Regions from separate parts of the Homo sapiens genome. Here region 2 is linked to region 1. The links are contacts of gene promoters, found by promoter capture Hi-C in blood cells and fetal thymus (Javierre and others, 2016). All regions are on one chromosome and are shown on one strand. Each heading gives the region's core, a stretch centred on a gene start or on the middle of the fragment in contact. The rest is flanking DNA. Distances are from core to core; before and after follow the strand shown. Region 1 holds the start of MED17 (mediator complex subunit 17). Region 2 holds the start of SRSF8 (serine and arginine rich splicing factor 8).

Region 1 (4,118 bases), core at 1,343-3,842:
GTAAACATCTTGAATATATACCCTGTATATGTGCAACTTTTTCTGCAGGTTAAATTTTTAGTCGTGGTAATAGTGAATCAAAGGAGATATACATTTAAAAGTTTCGGCTGGGTGCAGTGGCTCAGGCCTGTAATCCCAGCACTTTGGGAGGCCGAGGCAGGGTGGATCACCTGACATCAGGTATTTAAGACCAGCCTGGCCAACATGGTGAAACTCTATCTCTACTAAAAATACAAAAATTAGCCAGGCATGGTGCCGCACGCCTACAGTCCCACATACTAGGGAAGCTGAAGTGGGAGAATCGTTTTGAATCCAGGAGGCAGGGGTTGCAGTGAGCCGAGATTGCACCACTGCACTCCAGCCTGGCCGACAGAGCAAGACTCCATCTCAAAAAAAAAAACAAAACAAACCAAAAAAAGTTAAAATTAAATGTTGGCACATATTAAACTGCCAAATTGTCTTTCAGAATCACTACCAGTTCACATTCCTAACCCTGAATATTAACAATCTTTTCAATTTCTGTCAATTTTGTGCATGGAAAGAGTATCTTAATCATGTTTTAATTTCCCAGTCCCTAGTAATGAGATTGAGTCTATGTTCTGTTTATTGGTATCTGAAGTCTCTCCTCTATGAGCCTTCAGATACCTTTGGCCTATTTTTCCAAAGTGTCATTATTTTCTTTTCAGTCTGAAGGGACTTTTTGAATAGAGAAGATATCAACTAAATTTGTGTTATATGTGTAGAACTTCTCCCAGTCTGTCATTTATCTTTTTACTTTGCTTATGGCATCTTTTCCCATTATTTTTAAATTTTATGTAAGTAATATATCTATACTTTGTAAGGTAGGTAGGTGTGTGGTTGTGTGTGTGGATGTTAGAGTCTTGTTCTGTTACCCAGGCTGGAGTGCGGTGGCACAATCATAGCTCACTGCAGCCTTGATCTCACTGGCTGAATCCATCCTCCTCCCTCAGCCTCCCCAGTAGCTGGGACCACAGACGTGCACCACCACGCCCAGCTAATTTTTTTAATTTGTAGAGGCAGGAGCTCCCTATGTTGCTCAGGCTGGTCTTGAAGTCTGGGCTCAAGTGATCCTTCCACCTTGGCCTCCAAAAATGTTGGAACTACAGGTGTGAGCCACCATGCCTGTCCTGTTATTTCCGAAATTAAGAAGATCTATCCGACTCCCAGAATAATACAACTATTCTTTCATTATTTCTTCTAACACTTTGTTTTACTTTCTTCATTTGGCACTTCAATCCTCAAAAATTACTGTGGAAATAATTTTTGTGTGAGGTATAAAGTAGTATTTACCTTTTTTTGCAAATAGACCCCTAATAATCCTAACAGCACTGCCCTGAAATGACATCTTTAAATTCCCATTTACACTGGGTGTGCTGCATAACTAAATTAAGAATTTTGATTTTTTTTTCAAAAATCCTTGACAATAATGAGAATCTGAAACCCACTCATTATTTCTTCACTTCCCTCCTAGTCTCCTCCCTTCCAGTTTTGCTTTCCCTATAATTCATTTATTAGAAAGCATCTAGAGTAAACTTTAACAAAACCATCTCTACTTATCCTGCAAAAGCTTTCAGTGGTCTTAACACTAGTCAAACGCTTATCCCGGCCTACTGGGTTCTACATGATCTGGACCCGCCTACCTCTTGGACCTCGTCACACATTTCAGTCAAAACAGACCTCTTTTCTGCAGGTGCTACTATCATCATTCACACCGCACAAGGATGCAAAGTAACTCGCCCAAGGTCACACAGCCGGCAAGGGGCAGAGCCCCGATCTAGGGCTCTTTTAGCCACTAAGTGTGCTACATTAAAGGCCCTCTACAGAGAAGCATTCATTTAAACATTTCACGGTTTGACAGTGTCTCTAAACGCTGCCATTCAAGGAGACCCGCAGGAGTATTACGTAAAGTCGTGTCCTACCTTGTCCGGCAGCAACAAAAAGATGACGACCAAGTATCCTTACGCTTCCGCTAGAGGGACACTCAAAAGTTCTCGCACGCACAAGATCACCCCCATCGCGGGAGAGGCGGAGGCCCGCGCGGGTGCTGGGACCCAGACCGGGGGACTCGGGCAGCGGATGCAGGCCTTACCTTCCTCGTCGTCCTGGTCTGCGCTGGACCCGGCGCCCGGCCACTCCTGCGCGTCGCCCTCGGTCCCCGCCGCCTCCTCCTCCTCGGAGCCCGAACCCTGGCTGAAGTCTATCCGCTGGGCCAGACGCGCCAGATTCTGCGACATGGACAGCGGGGGCAGGTACGTCTCGGTGCCATCCAGGCCCACCTCATGGACCTGCTTCTCGCAGGCCGATTCGATGCTGATCCGCACTGCGCGCACCCCGGACATGCTGGCTGCGTCGGCCAGCGGTGGGAGGACCCCCCACGAGCCAAAAAACGAGGTACGAAGAGGAGGCTTCCCTGCGGAGAGCCGGGAACTCAGAAGCCCGCAGCCGCGGTGCCTCAGAAGACCCTCGGGAAACCGAACGCAACGCTCAGACTGGAAACAAAGGAGCTGGCCCAGCAACTTTCCCAGAACGCACCGCAAGCTCCCTCCTCGGTAAGTCTTTCGGAGCAAAACTGGGCAGGCGCGGAAGCTCCAGGGTTCCCTAGAGCGCTTCCGGTGAATCACGGTGCAGGGTGGGGTAAACTTCCGGGCCTATAAGAGGCGTGGCCGGCAGAGGGAGGGAAAGAGCGGTTTGGGAGCCGAGAGTGTGGCGGGTATATTCCTTGCTTTTTAAGCCTGCGTTTGTTTAAAAAGTGGATGAGGAAAGAAAGCTGCAGAGGCTAGAAGAGTTAAGGAAAAGGAAATTAATGGATCCTTGGATCTTAGCAATGAGAGTCCTGTTGAGAGAACTGAGATCTGGTGGCGCGCGCCTGTGGTCCAGCTACGCGGGTGGCTGAGGCGGGAGAATGGCTTGAGCCCTGGAGATGGAGGCTGCAGTGAGCCGAGATCTCACCGCTGCATTCCAGCCTAAGCAACAGAGTGGGATCCTGCCTCAAAACAAAAGTTATTTTAAATTAGCAAGAAATTTTTTAAAGAAACACTATCTGAAGAGTTAGAAATTAAGGGCATGGCTTGGGGGAAACAATCGTGCTTATCACCACTTAAAATTATACTACGTAATTATTTGGTTTCCTGTTAGTTATAACTCTATGACAGCCAATATCTGCAGCAGACATAATAGACTCTGGCATGTAGTAAGTGCTTAATATTTATTTTATGCCCGAGTAACAGAATAAATAATGTTGATCTCGCTTTTTTATTAGTGATGGGGTCCCACTATGTTGCCCAGGCTGAGTGCAGAGGTTATTCACAAGTGCTGTCAGCACGCTACAGCCTGGAGCTCCTGGGCTCCAACGATGCTCCTGCCTTAGCCTCCTGAGGAGCTGGGACTATAGGAGCGTGTCACCATGCCTGGCCTGCAAATAATATTTAAAAGATTAAGAAGAAGTGGTATAACTTCAGTCTTTGGGTCTCCAAGAACGTATTTCATTAGTAGGAATTCCACAGACAAAGATGGATTATTTTATATTACAAACCTCTATATTTCGTTTAAGGAATTATATATACCGTTTATCATGAGTGTTTGCCAGGTTTTGTTCTGACCAAGATATATCTAGGTTTTGAACTACTTTCCTAAGGTATTTAGGAAAATACGGTTGCCCTGGTGTCAGTCCCTGCTGAAGAAGAAAGTAGATGGCCGTGTGTGGAGGGGGTTGAATTTTCATGAGAGAAACCTATTTCTGGCAAGCTGTACAGTCTGTCGCCCAATCATGTTCGAGAACCACTGTACTTGCTTTTCGTGTAAATTTGTTTAAAAATTTTTTTTAACTTTATTTTAAAATCTGATTAATAGCCAGGCGCAGTGGCAGTCTAATAGTGCAGACAAAAACAAGACAACAACAAATGATTATGATTCCTAGAATAAGCAAAGCTTTTGCCACCAAGTCTTCAAGATCAAAACTAGCTGCTTAGCCAGTTGTTTAAAGATGTGTTGGATCTGAAAGGTTAGTTGTTAAGGTTTTCATATTATCCATTAACGTAGTGATATTATCTGATTCATCTGGGATACAGACATAACACACAGTTTTTATGATAATGCAA
Region 2 (3,624 bases), core at 143-2,642, 1.3 Mb before region 1:
TCTTGGGCGTCGCGCCGGTCGTGAAAGCGGACGAAAGCGAAGCCCCGGGGCGCCTTGGTGTGGGGCTCCCGCGGGATGTACACGTCGCCCACGCGCCCGTACTTCTCGAACACGCGCCTCAAGCTGTCGGGAGAGGTGCGGTAGGTCAGGTTGTCCACCTTGAGGGTGATCATGCCGTCCACGTCGGGAGGGGGGCGGCCGCAGCTCATGGCTCCGAGAGCAGCCCGGGCCCGGAAACTGGCGCTGCTCTGGGCGCTGACGGTGCGACCTGCGTTTCTTTCTCGCGGTTGCGCCCCGCGTGGGGACGCCGGGAAAGGCCGGGCGGAGAGGCGGGCGGCGGAGCTCCGCAGGGAGCGCCCTGGAGCAGCAACTTCCGAGTTCCCAATTTCAGGCCAAATACTCCAGGACCCAGAGGAAGGTTTCCTTTTGGTAGCTGAACTCCAAATGAAGCCAGGCCCCGAAGATCCTGGCCTTGTACCTGGGCAACATCCTAACCTAATCAGCGCCCAGCTAATGTAATCACTGGGCTGGATTTACATTAGACGTCCCACCCTCCCATGCTCCTCCCTATTATTCTACGTTTTAAACCAATCTTAAGAACAAAGCTAACTGATTAAAGGTCAATTTATGGGAACAGGCAATCCAGACAAATATTAAACAAAAGAAACCTAGGGCAACAATATTAATATCCAGTGTATTGATAGGATCAAAGGAGCACATTTCATAGTTATTGAAAAGAAAATTCACTAGGAAAACATTACAGTGATGAACTTAACGCACCTAAACACATAACAGTGACACATAGCCAAGACTGAGAGTTATAAGGTAAAACTGAAAAATCTGCACTCATGATGGAAGTTTGTTTTTTCCCCGTAACACCGTTTTCTCAGAAATCAATAGTGCAGAGAACAAAACTAGTAATGCTATAATAATTTGCACAACAAACAACAATTTTGATCATATAACCTGCAACAACCAAAAATATATAGAAAACAGAAGAATTTCCCAATACAAGACTACAAAATAAATGTCAATTAAAATTTAATAGGTCAATAAATTCAGCACATCTGGACCTCAGTGAAATAATATTGAAGGTTAAAAATAAAAAACCTGAATCCAATCATATTTACTTGAAAATTAATAACCACATTTCTAAAACTTTTTTTATGTTGAAGTCAAGCAATTAGTAAAACAAAACCAAAACAAAAAATAAAACATTAAAATAAAAATAGAATTACAAATAAAAGGGACAATATGTTTTTTTAAAAAGATGATTAATAAAACTGAAATCTAACACTTTTAAAGAAAAAAACAATCTAGCAATACTGATGAAGAAATACAGTTTCTAAATCTGGAAAGGAAATATACAGAAAGGGCCTAGAGCATCTTGGAGTGCTGGAAAATAAGGATGTGATAAATAGAAAACAAACAAAAGCATTGATGGGGTAATTTTAGAGGGGTACAAAAACCAATAAAACAGCTCCCAATGGCCAAATCTTGAACAATTTAAGGAACAAACTAAAATACTACTATATCATATTCCAAAATATAAAATAAATATTAATCTGTGCTGTTGTAAATAAATGATTAAATAAATTAACACATTGGAGAAAAGAGAGAAAACTCCTCTGCAGGAGAATTCTAAATTAATTAAATTAATTAAAACGTTGCTGATTTTGAAAATGTTATGTAACCTTATATACATAGAATTGTGCTTTTTATATTTTAATGTATTTTGTGTTTTATTTCCCTCATCTATGTGTTCCATGTAGCTGTACTTGATCCTGTTACCTTGCCGTAAGGCATTCAATGGTATAAATGTTTGTGCTGTTGATGGGCACTTGGGTTGTTTCCACTTTTGGCCTCTTACAGTGTTGCTCAGAACATGCTTGGACATGTATACTGGAGCTCATGTGTCCTCTTAGGTATGAATGGATCCCTTGTCACAGAATACAGGCAGCCCACTGTAACCTCTGGCTTCAGCATCAGTGAATTCAGCCAACTGTGGGTAGAAATTATTCAGAAAAAAAAAACAATAAAAATAAATAGAACATAATACAGTAAACAATTATTTACATAGCATTTTCATCATAATGTAAGTAATCTAGAGATGACTTAAAGTATGTTGGAAAATACGTATAGGTTACATGCTCATACCAAGCCATTTTATATATGGACTTGAAAATCCTCAGAATCCTCAGGGGTTACTAAGGACCAAACCCCATCCACCTGCAGAATATCAAGGGACAACTGTATGTGAATTCAAACTTTACCATGCCTGATTGTTTTTCAACAGTTTTTATCAATTTACACACAGGATAGCTGTGTATGAGGGTGCTCAGTGCTCTTCACTTTTGCAAACCTTTGGTGAATATCAGACTTTTTAGTTTTAGCCAGTTAGGTGAGGGCATTAAGATTTGTTTTACCTGTGATTTCGTCCCCACACAACAGCCTGGGGTGACACAGTGAGATTTTGTCACTTAAAACTTAAAAAAAAAAAATTCATTTCCCTAACTGCAAATGAGAGTGAGTAATTTTTTCACGTTCATTGGCCATTTGGGTATTCTTACTCATAAGCTGCCTATTATGTATTTTGTCCATTTTTCTATTGGGTTGGCGTTCTCTGCACTAGCTCTTTATATATAATGGATATCAGCTCTTTGCTGGATATGAGTAATACAATATCAGTTCACACTCCTTGGTTTGTCATTTCTCTCTTTTTTTCATATCTTTTGATGAACAGAAGTCCCTCTTTATTTCTAATAGTAAAATATTATTTAAAATAGCTAACATACCTGGTGACTATAACATGGCAAACACTGTTCGGTTTACTCTTGGTACAATAAATCATTTAATTCTTATGACCTATAAGAAGATTCATACCTCTAATTTTCAGATGACAGAACTGAGTCATTGAGACATTAAGTCACTTGTTCAAGGCGGTAGAGCTAGCACTGTTAGAGTCAAATATTTAAATGACAACCCCCAAAATGATGCCTTAAAACAAAAAAAAGACTTCTCCCTTATCAAACTGTAATATTTGAGCTGATATCAACAGTACCTCTAAGCACAGATACTGAGACCAGACACAGATACATGTACAGTTGACCCTGGAACAATGAGGGGATTCAGGGTGCTGAATCCCTGTGCAGTTGAAACTCCTCAAATACTTTTGACTCCTCCCAAAACTGAACTACTAAGAGCCTGCTGTTGACTGGAAGTCTTACAGATATCAACGGTTGATTAACACAGATTTTGTATGTGACATGTACTAAATACTGGATTCTTACAGTAAAGAAAACTAGAGAAAAGAAAATGTTTTTAAGAAAATCATAAGGAGGAGAAAATGTATTTACTATACTGTACTATATTTATGGATACCTTAACCATTTACAAGATGAATAGCCTGTCTGAAATGGCTGGCAACCTCACTGCAGACCTCAATGTACCCTACACATCAAGCAATTCAACATTTTCTTATACTGTCGTGACTTTTCTCTGCTTCTTGGGAACATTTCCAGCATCACTAGTGGCACTTCGTCTGGGCCCCATAGTATTATTCAAGCTTTAGGATATTGCCCTAAACATGATACTCAAGAGATCACTTTTTACTGTGATAGACAA

Evidence for each region. Contacts are between HindIII fragments. The CHiCAGO score rates a contact against its expected background, and 5 or more counts as called.
Region 2: a fragment that was not itself captured here is called in contact with the fragment with the promoter of MED17 in region 1 in 2 of 17 cell types (naive CD8 T cells and total CD8 T cells); the score reaches 8.0 in naive CD8 T cells.

What each region holds. Positions count from the first base shown.
Region 1 is chr11:93,782,756-93,786,873 of GRCh38, reverse strand. It overlaps MED17 (mediator complex subunit 17), which reads right to left and starts at 2,592. Exons shown (of 12, transcript NM_004268.5): 1 at 2,111-2,592. The coding sequence starts at 2,360. RefSeq lists enhancers at 1-307, 2,316-2,535, 2,477-2,771 and silencers at 1,860-2,054, 2,056-2,185. The HindIII fragment of the contact is 2,360 bases long and covers 1,591-3,950 here.
Region 2 is chr11:95,063,812-95,067,435 of GRCh38, reverse strand. SRSF8 (serine and arginine rich splicing factor 8) reads right to left here and starts at 517. Exons shown (of 1, transcript NM_032102.4): 1 at 1-517. The coding sequence starts at 209. RefSeq lists enhancers at 22-211, 1-693 and a silencer at 462-541. The HindIII fragment of the contact is 4,351 bases long and covers 1-3,567 here.